Linked DNA regions of Homo sapiens: regions 2, 3 and 4 are each linked to region 1. Evidence: promoter capture Hi-C in human tissues and cell types (Jung and others, 2019). All regions are on one chromosome and are shown on one strand. The core of a region is centred on a gene start or on the middle of the fragment in contact, and the rest is flanking DNA. Distances in the headings are between cores, read along the strand shown. Region 1 holds the start of FOXL1 (forkhead box L1). Region 2 has its middle 64 kb from the start of LINC02181. Region 3 has its middle 87 kb from the start of LINC02181. Region 4 has its middle 150 kb from the start of LINC02181.

Evidence for each region. Contacts are between HindIII fragments. The study calls those that stand out against the background at their distance.
Region 2: a contact is called between a fragment that was not itself captured here and the fragment with the promoter of FOXL1 in region 1, in 2 of the 25 tissues and cell types used here (IMR-90 fibroblasts and lymphoblastoid cells).
Region 3: a fragment that was not itself captured here is called in contact with the fragment with the promoter of FOXL1 in region 1 in 2 of the 25 tissues and cell types used here (IMR-90 fibroblasts and aorta).
Region 4: a fragment that was not itself captured here is called in contact with the fragment with the promoter of FOXL1 in region 1 in 1 of the 25 tissues and cell types used here (lymphoblastoid cells).

The regions. Positions count from the first base shown.
Region 1 is chr16:86,577,252-86,579,821 of GRCh38, reverse strand. FOXL1 (forkhead box L1) reads right to left here and starts at 1,273. Exons shown (of 1, transcript NM_005250.3): 1 at 1-1,273. The coding sequence starts at 1,098. The coding sequence ends at 61. RefSeq lists an enhancer at 1-413. The HindIII fragment of the contact is 9,412 bases long and covers 1-2,570 here.
Region 2 is chr16:86,992,746-86,995,315 of GRCh38, reverse strand. No RefSeq gene overlaps it. Among named protein-coding and RNA genes, the nearest start is that of LINC02181, 64 kb to the left of the region's middle. The HindIII fragment of the contact is 6,483 bases long and covers 1-2,570 here.
Region 3 is chr16:86,969,077-86,971,646 of GRCh38, reverse strand. No RefSeq gene overlaps it. Among named protein-coding and RNA genes, the nearest start is that of LINC02181, 87 kb to the left of the region's middle. RefSeq lists an enhancer at 2,118-2,570. The HindIII fragment of the contact is 4,579 bases long and covers 1-2,570 here.
Region 4 is chr16:86,910,673-86,913,242 of GRCh38, reverse strand. No RefSeq gene overlaps it. Among named protein-coding and RNA genes, the nearest start is that of LINC02181, 150 kb to the left of the region's middle. RefSeq lists an enhancer at 674-2,570. The HindIII fragment of the contact is 9,380 bases long and covers 1-2,570 here.

The DNA of each region.
Region 1 (2,570 bases), core at 24-2,523:
GGCCTTTCGCTCAGCGGAGGCTCAGGCTGGGCCGGGAGAAGAACCGTGCCATTGTTTGCTTTACTGGAAGTGGAGTACCGTGTCGGGAACCTGCAGGGGGAAATAAGAGAGGAAGGGGATCCCGAGCTGGTAAAAGCCGCCCTGGACATGCGGGTCGAGCATCAGGGAAGCGTTGAAAGGCGGACGGAGGCTGGAGGAGGCGGCCAGGAGCGAGGCACCCAGACGGCCGCCGGGCCCAGGCTTGGCACCCCCTAGGAGTTCGTCCCCTGAAGGCGGCTTCTGGCCCTGCTTTCCCGCCAGGATGCTGTCTATGCTGAAGCTCTTGGACTTGTCGGAGCTCTTCGGAGAGCTGCGGGAGGCGGGGCGCAGAGGGGACCCCGGGCCGTCCCCTGTGCGCGCTGCCTGGCCGACCGCCACGGCCGCTGCGCCCTGGGCAGCGTCACCAGCGTCCTCGTTCGGGGACGCGGTCCCCGGCCAGTGGAGGGGCGCCGGCGGAGAGGGGCCGTCCAGGAGGGGCGAGGGGCCCGCGGGCGCTGCCTGCAGGCGGGAGATTGCGGGGCCCGAGCCCCCTGCCCCGCTCCCCGCCTCCGGCTGCGCCTCCGCGCTGCGCTGGTGCGTCTCGGCGCGGGGCCTCTTGGCCTCCGGGGCCCCGGGGCCCGGCTTGGGCTTCCTCTTCCGGCGCCGGTAGTTGCCGTTCTCAAACATGTCCAGGCAGCGGGGGTCCAGCGTCCAGTAGCTGCCCTTGCCCGGCCGCCCTTTCTCGCGGGGCACCTTGACGAAGCAGTCGTTGAGCGAGAGGTTGTGGCGGATGCTGTTCTGCCAGCCCTGCCGGTTGTCGTGGTAGAAGGGGAAGCGGTCCATGATGAACTGGTAGATGCCGTTGAGCGTGACCCTCTGCTCGGGCGCGTCCTGGATCGCCATGGCGATGAGCGCGATGTAGCTGTAGGGAGGCTTCTGCGGGGTCTCGGCCCGGCCCGAGGCAGCTAGAGCAGCCGCGGGGGCGAAGGCCAGAGGGAGGCCGGGTCTCTCGGGACCGTACAGATACAGCATGGGCGAGGCGGCCAGGGCAGGCAGCCGGGGATCGAAGAGGTGACTCATGGCAAGCGAGAGCCTGCGCTGCGCTCCCCGCAACGCAGGAGACCCGGGCGGCCTAGGCACTGCGCCCCGCGCCGCAAGGGCCCTCCCGGGGAGCCAGCCGTGCCTCTGCCTCTGGCTCTGCCGCTCTCCCCGGCCGCTCCGTGCTCTGTCCCTTCTTCATGGCTTTAAAAATGTTAAATAATTGTTGTAAGTTTGCTGTTATATGTTGACTTAGCCCTGGAAAATAAATTGTCTATGATAAACAGTCCTTGTGTTCTCAGCCCACCCACATTAATTAAAATTTCATTGCTGAAAAACTCCAAGCTTTTCCCTCCACGTGTCTTTTTGATACCAGCCAATCGGTTTTGGGGCTATTCCTTCATTTGTTTATAGAATTAGTCTGTTGATAAGTCCGCCCACCCAAGTTGAATCAAGCTGTGTTTATTTGGAAAAATTTCCGGGCACCCAATATATAAACGCACTGATCTGATGTTTGAAATATCACGTCCACCCCTTGACGCTGTAAGCACACACAGTCAGTGAGGCAGGATGTAGACTGCGGTGGCTCAGAGCAGGGTCTGCTGAGCCAGGAAGGAGAGGTGGAGATGGGGGTGGGTGTGCAGGGATGAGTTTTACGCTGGCCTGGGGGAGCCCCATAACGCCAGGGCCTCCCACAAAAGGTCTTTTCTTCTCCCAGGCTTAACCGGAGATATCGAGATGCCACAGTCTAGTAAAACACTTTCTGAGGTCCTAGGAACCTTTTAGATTGGGGCAGGGAGAGTATCTAAGAAGCCTGAGTGTCTGCTGAGAAGGGGATGCGGCCCTCCCTGGAAAAACAGGTGGCAGACCCAGTAGGAGGTGGCACTCTCTAGGGACCTGCTCTCCCACACCCTCCCTTCCAGGGCTCTCCGGAAATCGGAGGGAAAGTGGACTCTGGGAGCCCAGTCTCTCTGGAAGGGAAGGCCTAAGGCACTGGGGGCCTGGGGAAGAGCTCATGGTCCACAGCTCCATTGAGGAAGGTTTCAAAATAAACCCATTTAGAGAACCGGGGGCAAAAGTAAGGTCCTCCTGATGGGGCCAAGGTTGCAAGAGAGGAACACCATAAAAGGAGGCCGTGGCAGCTGGCGCGGGAGGCCTGGTATTTGTGAATGTGGGTCTCCAGCTTTATATTCTGGGCTTTCCTGTTTATAACAAGGAGGGGGTTATAACAACTTTACAAGTGCATGCAGCTGGCCCGTGATTACATTAGGCATTTGGGAAGCCTGCTTGCTCTCCCTGTATCCACCCACCCTGGGGTGTACGCGGCCCTCCACCCCCATCTCATTTTACATTTTCCCACATCACTGTTTGAATAAAAAATCCTGAATCATGCTGATTTCGAAGGGGGCCTCTCCTCCCCACTCCACCGGTTAGGGTAAGGGTAGAGGCACCTAGTGTGACTACTTCCTGTTTATGACCACCCCCTGAATATTAAAACACACACACACTGTCAC
Region 2 (2,570 bases), core at 48-2,547, 420 kb before region 1:
CTCTCACGGGGGCTCCTCTCCAAACCCCGCTGTACAAATATTGTCATCTTGCTCTTGCCTGGAGCCCTTGCCTCTGGCTTTATTATTTTTTTTCTCCTTTTTACCCTTTGACAGTGCAGTAGGGCACTTTGTGAGAAATCTTCCTGTAGAAGGACTGACTTATCACTCCACTTGGGAGTGAAACGACCTCTGGTGATCCCTACCTGGGCTCGTGGGGCTGCAGGGAGGAGCAGCCCAGGGCACTGGTCCAGCGTCCAGCGTGACTGCTTAGAGCTCACAGCCTGCACCGCGGGAGGCACCTCCCTCATCTACACAGTCCCGGTGGGGAGGATGATGAAGCCATTGTTGGAGCATGTCTGCTGGGGCGGAGCAGCAGGCTGGACCCTGTCAGCGGGGTCATTATCTGCCCACTGGCTCGAGTGACAATGAGTTATCATCATCGGCTGTTCTGTGGGAGACACATCAGGCCATTTCTTGCAGATTCTTGGGAGTGGGACATGATTTGTCCAGATTGGATGTCTACAAGTGCCTGGAAGATGAGATAATCTCCAGCTCTCTGCACACAGACTGAGCTTCTCCTGGCCAATGACTCAGCTGTGGTCTGGACTGGGGGGTAAATGTTTCCTGGTTTTGACAATGCGTTTAAGTTACAGGCTTAACTTCCAGGCTGGGTAAACGAGCCTTTAAAGAACTCCCAGGGATCCAATATTTAACCAGAAATTAACTAGCATTTCCAGAACACCCCCTGGCCACAAGGCTTTTTACAGAGATAGGAGATAATACTTAATAATAGTGTTCCCTATTTGTATTTGATTTGGATAAAGGGTCCTGTGTTCTGAATTGTCCACTTCCTCCAGGAAGCCTTCTTGGAGTATACCAACCTCCGAGTCAACTCTTCTCTCCCTCTTGCTCAACATCCAACAGTTGCCCAATCCTGTTGGTTCTTTCTCCATCACTCATTTTGGGTGGGTGGGAAGTTGCGTGTTTCAGAGGTAAAACCACACTTCTCTGAGCCTTAGTTTCCAAATTTGTAAAATCAAAGAAGTGATAAAAGTCTTTGCAGGGAGGCTTAGTAGATTAAGATGAAGCCGAATTGTGGGGTAGATTCTGGCCCCGTGGGAGCTCGGCAAGGCGTGGTTTCTGCCGTCCGCTGCTCTGCTGCCACTTCTCTGTGGAGCGGTGTTCATCTGGACACTTAGGTTTCCTTCCTGGGTCTAGACGAGCTTTCATGATCGTCTTTTGTCCCACACGTGGCTTTCGTTCCCCCACCATCCTTCTAATCCACCCCTGCTCTTATCTTGGGCTCCCCAAAGGCAGCCGGCAACTTGCCCGTGGAGCAGTGGTGGGTTCCTTGGGAGGTTGTCCAGGGCGCATGGGTTCAGTGGCAAGTCAGGAGGAGCAGGCTGTGCGATTGACGTCGCTGCTGGGGCACGGGGTGCAGTCCCACCGTGACCTCCTAAGACGTGCACAGAACACCTCCTAGAATTGTCTGCCCAAAAGGAGTACTTATCTATGGATCTCGTCCCTTCATGGGTCAAGCGCTGACTCCCCACTTCCCTGCGGTGATGTGGAAGGCCCGAGGGGCTTCCTCAGCCTCACGGCACTGGAGAAGTTCTGGGAAGGACTGGAGACCAGCGGCCTGTGCTTGTGGCACAATGAGCCAGCACGGAGGGGCTGGAGCCTGCATGGACTGGTCCGCCTGGCTGCGGCGAGGCCAGCTGAGGTGGGTGGTGGGGGGTAGGGGGTGGATGTGAGCTGGCAGCGGCTGTCCTGTCTGTCTCCTTGCTGCTGATGAATCTCCCCGCCTCACAGGCCTGTCTCCTGCCATCTTCCCGCTTATAAATCCTTCTGCTCATCAATGTTTCCCCAAGTATGTCAAAAAAGAGCTCCTGCTCCAACAGGGCTGAGAAATGCTGCATTAAGCAAATCTAGTTGGATTCCTTACTGCAGGACTTCTCAGAGGCTTGACTCTGTTAACATCATATTAAGAAGGAAGTGGGGGGTGTAGCTTTTTCTAAATGTCTTCATGATGAAGCTCTTACCTTCTAGGTGTGTATTACGAGACTCAGGTTTCCTGGAGAAACGCTAGTATGTAGAAATGCATCCAAACTCCTTTATCTGAAATGTGAGGCCCTTCATGATCTTGGGGCCAGTGGTGTTTTCTAGCCTTATTTTCTCCCATTTCTCTTCCCACATCCTCAACTCTGACAAACTCATCACGCCCCTTAATTTCTGGCCTCTGGATCTTTGCTCATGCTGTTCCTTCCAGCTGGAATGACATTCACTCTCCTGGGTCATGCTCTCTTTCAAGTCTTTGCTCGATTGGTGCAACTTCTCCAGGGCTGGCTCTGAAATCGGGCAAGCCCTGAGGCCCACCACCCAGCCTCTGTTACAGTTTTTTACACATAGATCTCATCTGCCCTACTAAACCATGAGCTCTGCAAGGGAAGAGTCATGTGTGATTCACCACTTAGCCAAGTCTTTCTGTAGCAGTGAGGCTCTGCTATGCTATGCCGCCCTAACAAACAGCCCCCAAATCGCAGTAGGTAACACAACAGAAATCCAACTCT
Region 3 (2,570 bases), core at 34-2,533, 390 kb before region 1:
ATGCAGCAGAGCTCCATGGCCCCTGAGCTCTTCCTGGCTCCCTGCTGTCTTTAGAGGCAGATGTTGCACCAGATGTTCCTGCCTCAGCAGCTTGGGTTTGGCCACATCATGCTGCCTGCTCAGTGGATGGGCCAAACCCCTCCAGTGAGGGCACAGGCTCAGGACCCGCTCTGGGCCTCTCCTCTCAGCCCACTTCCTGCTTCCTGCTTCCGCTAAGCTTCCAAAGGCCTTTTGTCCTCAGTCCAAATGGCCCAGAGGCTGCCAAACAGCTGGGACATGGCTGTGGAAGACCAGAGCCAGAATGAAGTTCATAGTGACGATCACATTTGCCACGCACTTCTCCCGTGCTAAGCATAATGGCAGTTAACCCTGACCGCATTCACGGGGGTAAATGCGATGATTCTTTCCTTCTGCAGATGAGCAAATGTAGCTCCTAGGAGTTAAACACCTCCCCAAAGCTCACGCTCTTGTCTGCAGCAGATGTTGCGTCCCAGCCCAGGCAGGGGGAACTTGGAAGCACTTGCTTAGCCACAGGGCCACCTTGCTTCTGCTCCTTGATGGAGACGAAGACTGTAGACTTGGGTCTGTGACTGTCAAATGGGATTCGGGGCCCAGACCTCAGAGACTTTGCCCCTGGGTGAAGGTGGTGAGTCTGTGTGGAGTGTGGAATCCTCAGCAGAGCCATATGGTGCTGGGAAGAGATGCATGGCAGGAGGAGGCAGTGTGGTCTCATCCGTCTGGATGGAATGATTCCAGAGTCATGCTTGCTCTCCTCCTGGCCAGCACTAGCCCCAGGGGAAGTGAGCCCTGGCATAGGCTCAGTGTCTAGGCCAGGCAGACGGGGCTTCTGTGGGAGATGGGAAGGTGGATGCCAGGAGACCTGCAATTGAGTAAAATCTTTCCTATTTGCCTAAAGAGACCCTCTCTGGGCAAGCCCCCCCAGGCCTTGGGTCAGTCAGATACCACTTCCTTCCACTATCTCTGCTTCTGAGGAATGCCGGATTTGATGTGTTTGGAGGAAGGACTTGTGATACAGACATTGCAGGTAGAGGCAGCCCCTGCCGCAGCTTCACTCAGCAGTGTTGAAACTTCCCCTTTCTTGGAAGTAGGTGGCAGCCCTTGGGGGAGGCCCTGCAGGTGGTTGTGTCAGTGTCCTGGGGCTGTGGTAGCCAATGACCACAAAACGAGAGGCTCAAAACAAACACATTTATTCTCTCACACTTCTGGAGACCGCAAGTCTGAAATCAAGCTGTGCACGGGGCTGCACTCCCTCCAGAGGCTCTAGGGGAAGCTCCTTCCTACCTTTTCCAGTTCTTAGTGGCTCTCGGCATTCCTTGGCTTGTGGCTGCATCAATCCCATCTCTGCCTCCATCATCATCACGTGCCTGTCTCCTCTGTGTGTCTGTGACAGTTTCTACTTCTGTAATAACGATGTGCAACTGGATTTAGGGCCCACCCTAATCCAGTATGATCTCATCTCAAGATCCTTAACCTAATTACATCTTCCAAGATCCTGTTTCCAAATGAGGTCCCATGCAGATTCCAGGGCTTGAACATATCTTTTGGGGGCACCATTCAACCCACTGCAATTGTCTTGGCCAAGCTTTGAGGGAGGGTGGTGCTGAGGGCCTGCCGAAGGCCCAGAGGCCTTGTCCTGCCATGTGGCTCTGGACGAGCTGCAGGCCTTCATGCAGGCTGGAGGCCAGGCTCAGGGCAGCCACCTGGATGTACATCCTCATCACCTAGAAGTCATTGGGAAATACAAATGCCTGGACCCCACCACTCCAGAGCTCCTAAGCCAGGATGCCTTGGAGCTAGGGGTGGGGTGGGGTTGGATCAGGCGTCAGTCAGAGTATGGGTCCTCCAGGTGATGCCACAGCATCCAGGCTTGGGGTGGACACTGGAAAACCCCTTCTCTCAGGCTCTTTTCCAGCTTGGACATTCTAGAATTCTGTGACATGAGGTTGTAGGGTAGACAGAGGTTGTATGTCCCAAGTCTGAAGTCACAGGCTGAGCCAGGACCATGCAGTGTCCTCAGTGCGAAATCTTTGTGGAGGTGCTCGAGTTTCAGTAGGACACGCACATGTCACCCACCCACCATCAAGGGATATTCAATGGGGCTGATCCTTTACGTAGAAGACTCAAAGTTTGCTTTGATTGTCATCAAGTTGGGGTGGACCCCATTGAAAAGATGTTAGATTTCTTAAAACTAGGTAAACAGACCCTGCCAATTCTTTCTGATGTTTTGGCTGAGAGTCTTTGTAGCTTAAAAGAGAAGAAACTAAGGGCTGCTGGAGGATGAAACATGTTTTGCCCCTGTAATAAATGACCTCACATACACTGATGGTGAAAAAATTCTTCGTTTCTCTGCAAAATTTGGAATGTATTTGTGATGACCATCTGGATGCTACACTATTTATGTCATTAGGTATTTGACCACCTGCCCTGAGGAAAGGAGCCCCTGGAATGCGAGGCTGTCTCAGAGAACCTGGGAGCCTGCCCTGTGCTCCAGGGCCAGGCGCCGCTGTGTGGCAGGGCCCCTGGGGCTTGGGAGGAGCTCCACCGGCAAG
Region 4 (2,570 bases), core at 50-2,549, 330 kb before region 1:
GTGTGCGTGTGTGTGGGTGTCTCTTTCTCTCCTTCCATCCCCTCTCTCTGTGTGTTGTGGGGCGGGGATTTGAGGTTTTATATACTTGCACCAATTGCAAAAAGTTTGAACTACCAATTTCATTGGCAGTGTTACCACCCGTGGTGTAAGTAGGCAAAGCAATTGTTCCATGGTCCTTGTTTTTCCTAAATACTCAAATCTACCATTAGATCTCTGACCATGTCAGTGTATATTTAGGCAGAGGGGAAAAAAAGGAACTTCCTACTGGCATGGGGCAGGTCTGTGGAGGCAGCCACGGGATGGCGCGGCCATGGCATTCACACTGCCCTTGTCACATATGGGGGCAGTGAGAGCCTTTGGAAAGGTCCTGAGCTTGTCGTTTCTCAGAAGTAACTCTTCCTGGCTAGCTCTCTCAGGCGTCCTTTGTAACATAACAAAACAAAATATGGCCATGAAGGAGGGCAGGTTGTGGGTTGATTATTGGCCAAACTTGGAATGATCCATCTTTCTTAATGGTTCAGAGCAAGTCAGATGAGAAATGGGAAGCTATGAAGTGTGGGGGAAGCAAATAAAGTAATAATGAGAAGATCACCTTTACTCTGTCTTTCAAAAGAAGTGTCAATTTATTTCAAAAGTAACATCAGTTCCCTTTGTACTAGATGTGTCAGCAGTACCTGTGAAACCTGCTGTGAGTAGACAGTACCGCTTGTAGAAGGCACGCACAGATGTCGGCTTGTGGATGGACATCATGTTAGTGAATGGACATTGTTTGAAAAGGTTGGAATCCATATGCATAATTCAGGGAATGTTTTAGACAAAGTTGGTTGTGCCTCGGGCGTACTTCTGCCTGAATTATGGTAACAATAAAATTAAATTTATTAATATGCATGACTCTGTTCAATGGAATGATAAAGCCCTTGAAAGCAATAACTATGGCTTAATCAGCTGTGTATCCCCAGTGACTGGCACCTGGTAGATGCTTAACAAATATTTATTGAAAAATTTAATAAGTGAGTGAGTGTGAGTGACTGAGTGTGCTCTTGGGAAAGCCAGCAGTTTCAAGATTTGGAAAATGAGGATAGTGAGGGCATTGCCTCATGGGGTTATTGTGAGAGCTGGGTGAGATTGTGCTTGTGCACCGTTTGAGGGGCAGGGTGATGATGATGGTGATGATGATGATGATGACAATGATACTGGAGAAAGAGAGTGGGAGGGAGAGAAACTGAGGCCAAAGAATTCACTTTGTTAATGTTCACTAATGAATCAATGTTAAGGTTGGAATTCAGATTCCAGCCCTAATTCTGGAGCTGTTTCTCTAGAAGCCTAAGACAAATGAGGGGCCACCGGCCTCCACAGTGGAACTCCATGTGAACTCACCCCAGTGGGCTGGGGTCAAACTCTGGGCAGTGGATTGGCTCATTAAACAAATGACCTAATTTAGTGCTTAAGACATCCAAAATTTACTAGGCTAATTTGTCAAGTCATCCAGAACAACCAAACCACAAATGGTAAGCCTCGTAGGTTTTAGTGGAATCATAGACGACATTCAGATCACCACTCAGTGAAAGGTTAAGTTAAAGTAGAAGCGACAATTTAGTCTTCAGAGCACTGCAGAGACTTTTATGGGCTGGTGTAAATCTCTTGGCCAACTCTTTCATCTTGTCCTTTCCATTTTTAGCACCTCTCAAGGAGAATGGTTTATGGAACTTGGGAGCAGGAAGCAGGAAGTAGGAAACAGGAAGTAGAAAGGTTCTCCTTTGGATGTGGTCACTGATAAGCACATGAAGTTACCCTTGGAGGGTAACAGTGACAGGGATTGTTCTATTTGCTGGCTCTCAATGGGGACTGAATGAACGAAGGGCATTTGTCGATGGGAACAAGATCCTTTAGCATGAAAAGGCTAGCTACAGAAACATAAAGAGGTGGAGGAAAGTGTGGTCACTATAGAAAGCTGTTACTTTCATTCACTCCTGGAATCAACACCTCTATAATTGCACCTCCTTCTGTAACTAAAGTGATGTTTGTCATTTTGCTGCAGAGGAAGGAGCCCTCACAGAGCTTGTGCATTTTGCTGGTTCAGGAAAGACAATGCAAGCAGTTATCCAAGGCCTTGTTCCTGGGGCTCTGTTATACCTCCCATCATCTGGACAGCTGTCTGTTTACATGGCGAGGGCTGCAAAGCTTCCAACTTAAAGATCCATCTGGTTCTTACATCAACCTAACCCGTAACCTTAAGGAGCAAGCCCAAACACGCCAGGGACATTTGAAAATTTAGGAACGAGCGTGTTTATATTGTATTTGCATTAATGCTTCCTAGAGTTTATTTTCAAAGTGAAGAAAGAACAATGCATAGTAGGCTATTAAACCCAAACATAATCAGTTTAAAGTTAGGGGCATGCTCCTAAGAATATTTTTCTCCTGTTTTGAAGGGTCCACTTGAGAAGGGAGTGGGGAGAAGGGGGTGCAGCGAGGAACCCAGGGCAGGGGAGGGGGTGGAGGGACTGTTCTGAATTCTCCTCAGGGTTTGGCCGGCCCCTGCGGGCCACTGCTGTTTGTCATATGGAATGGAT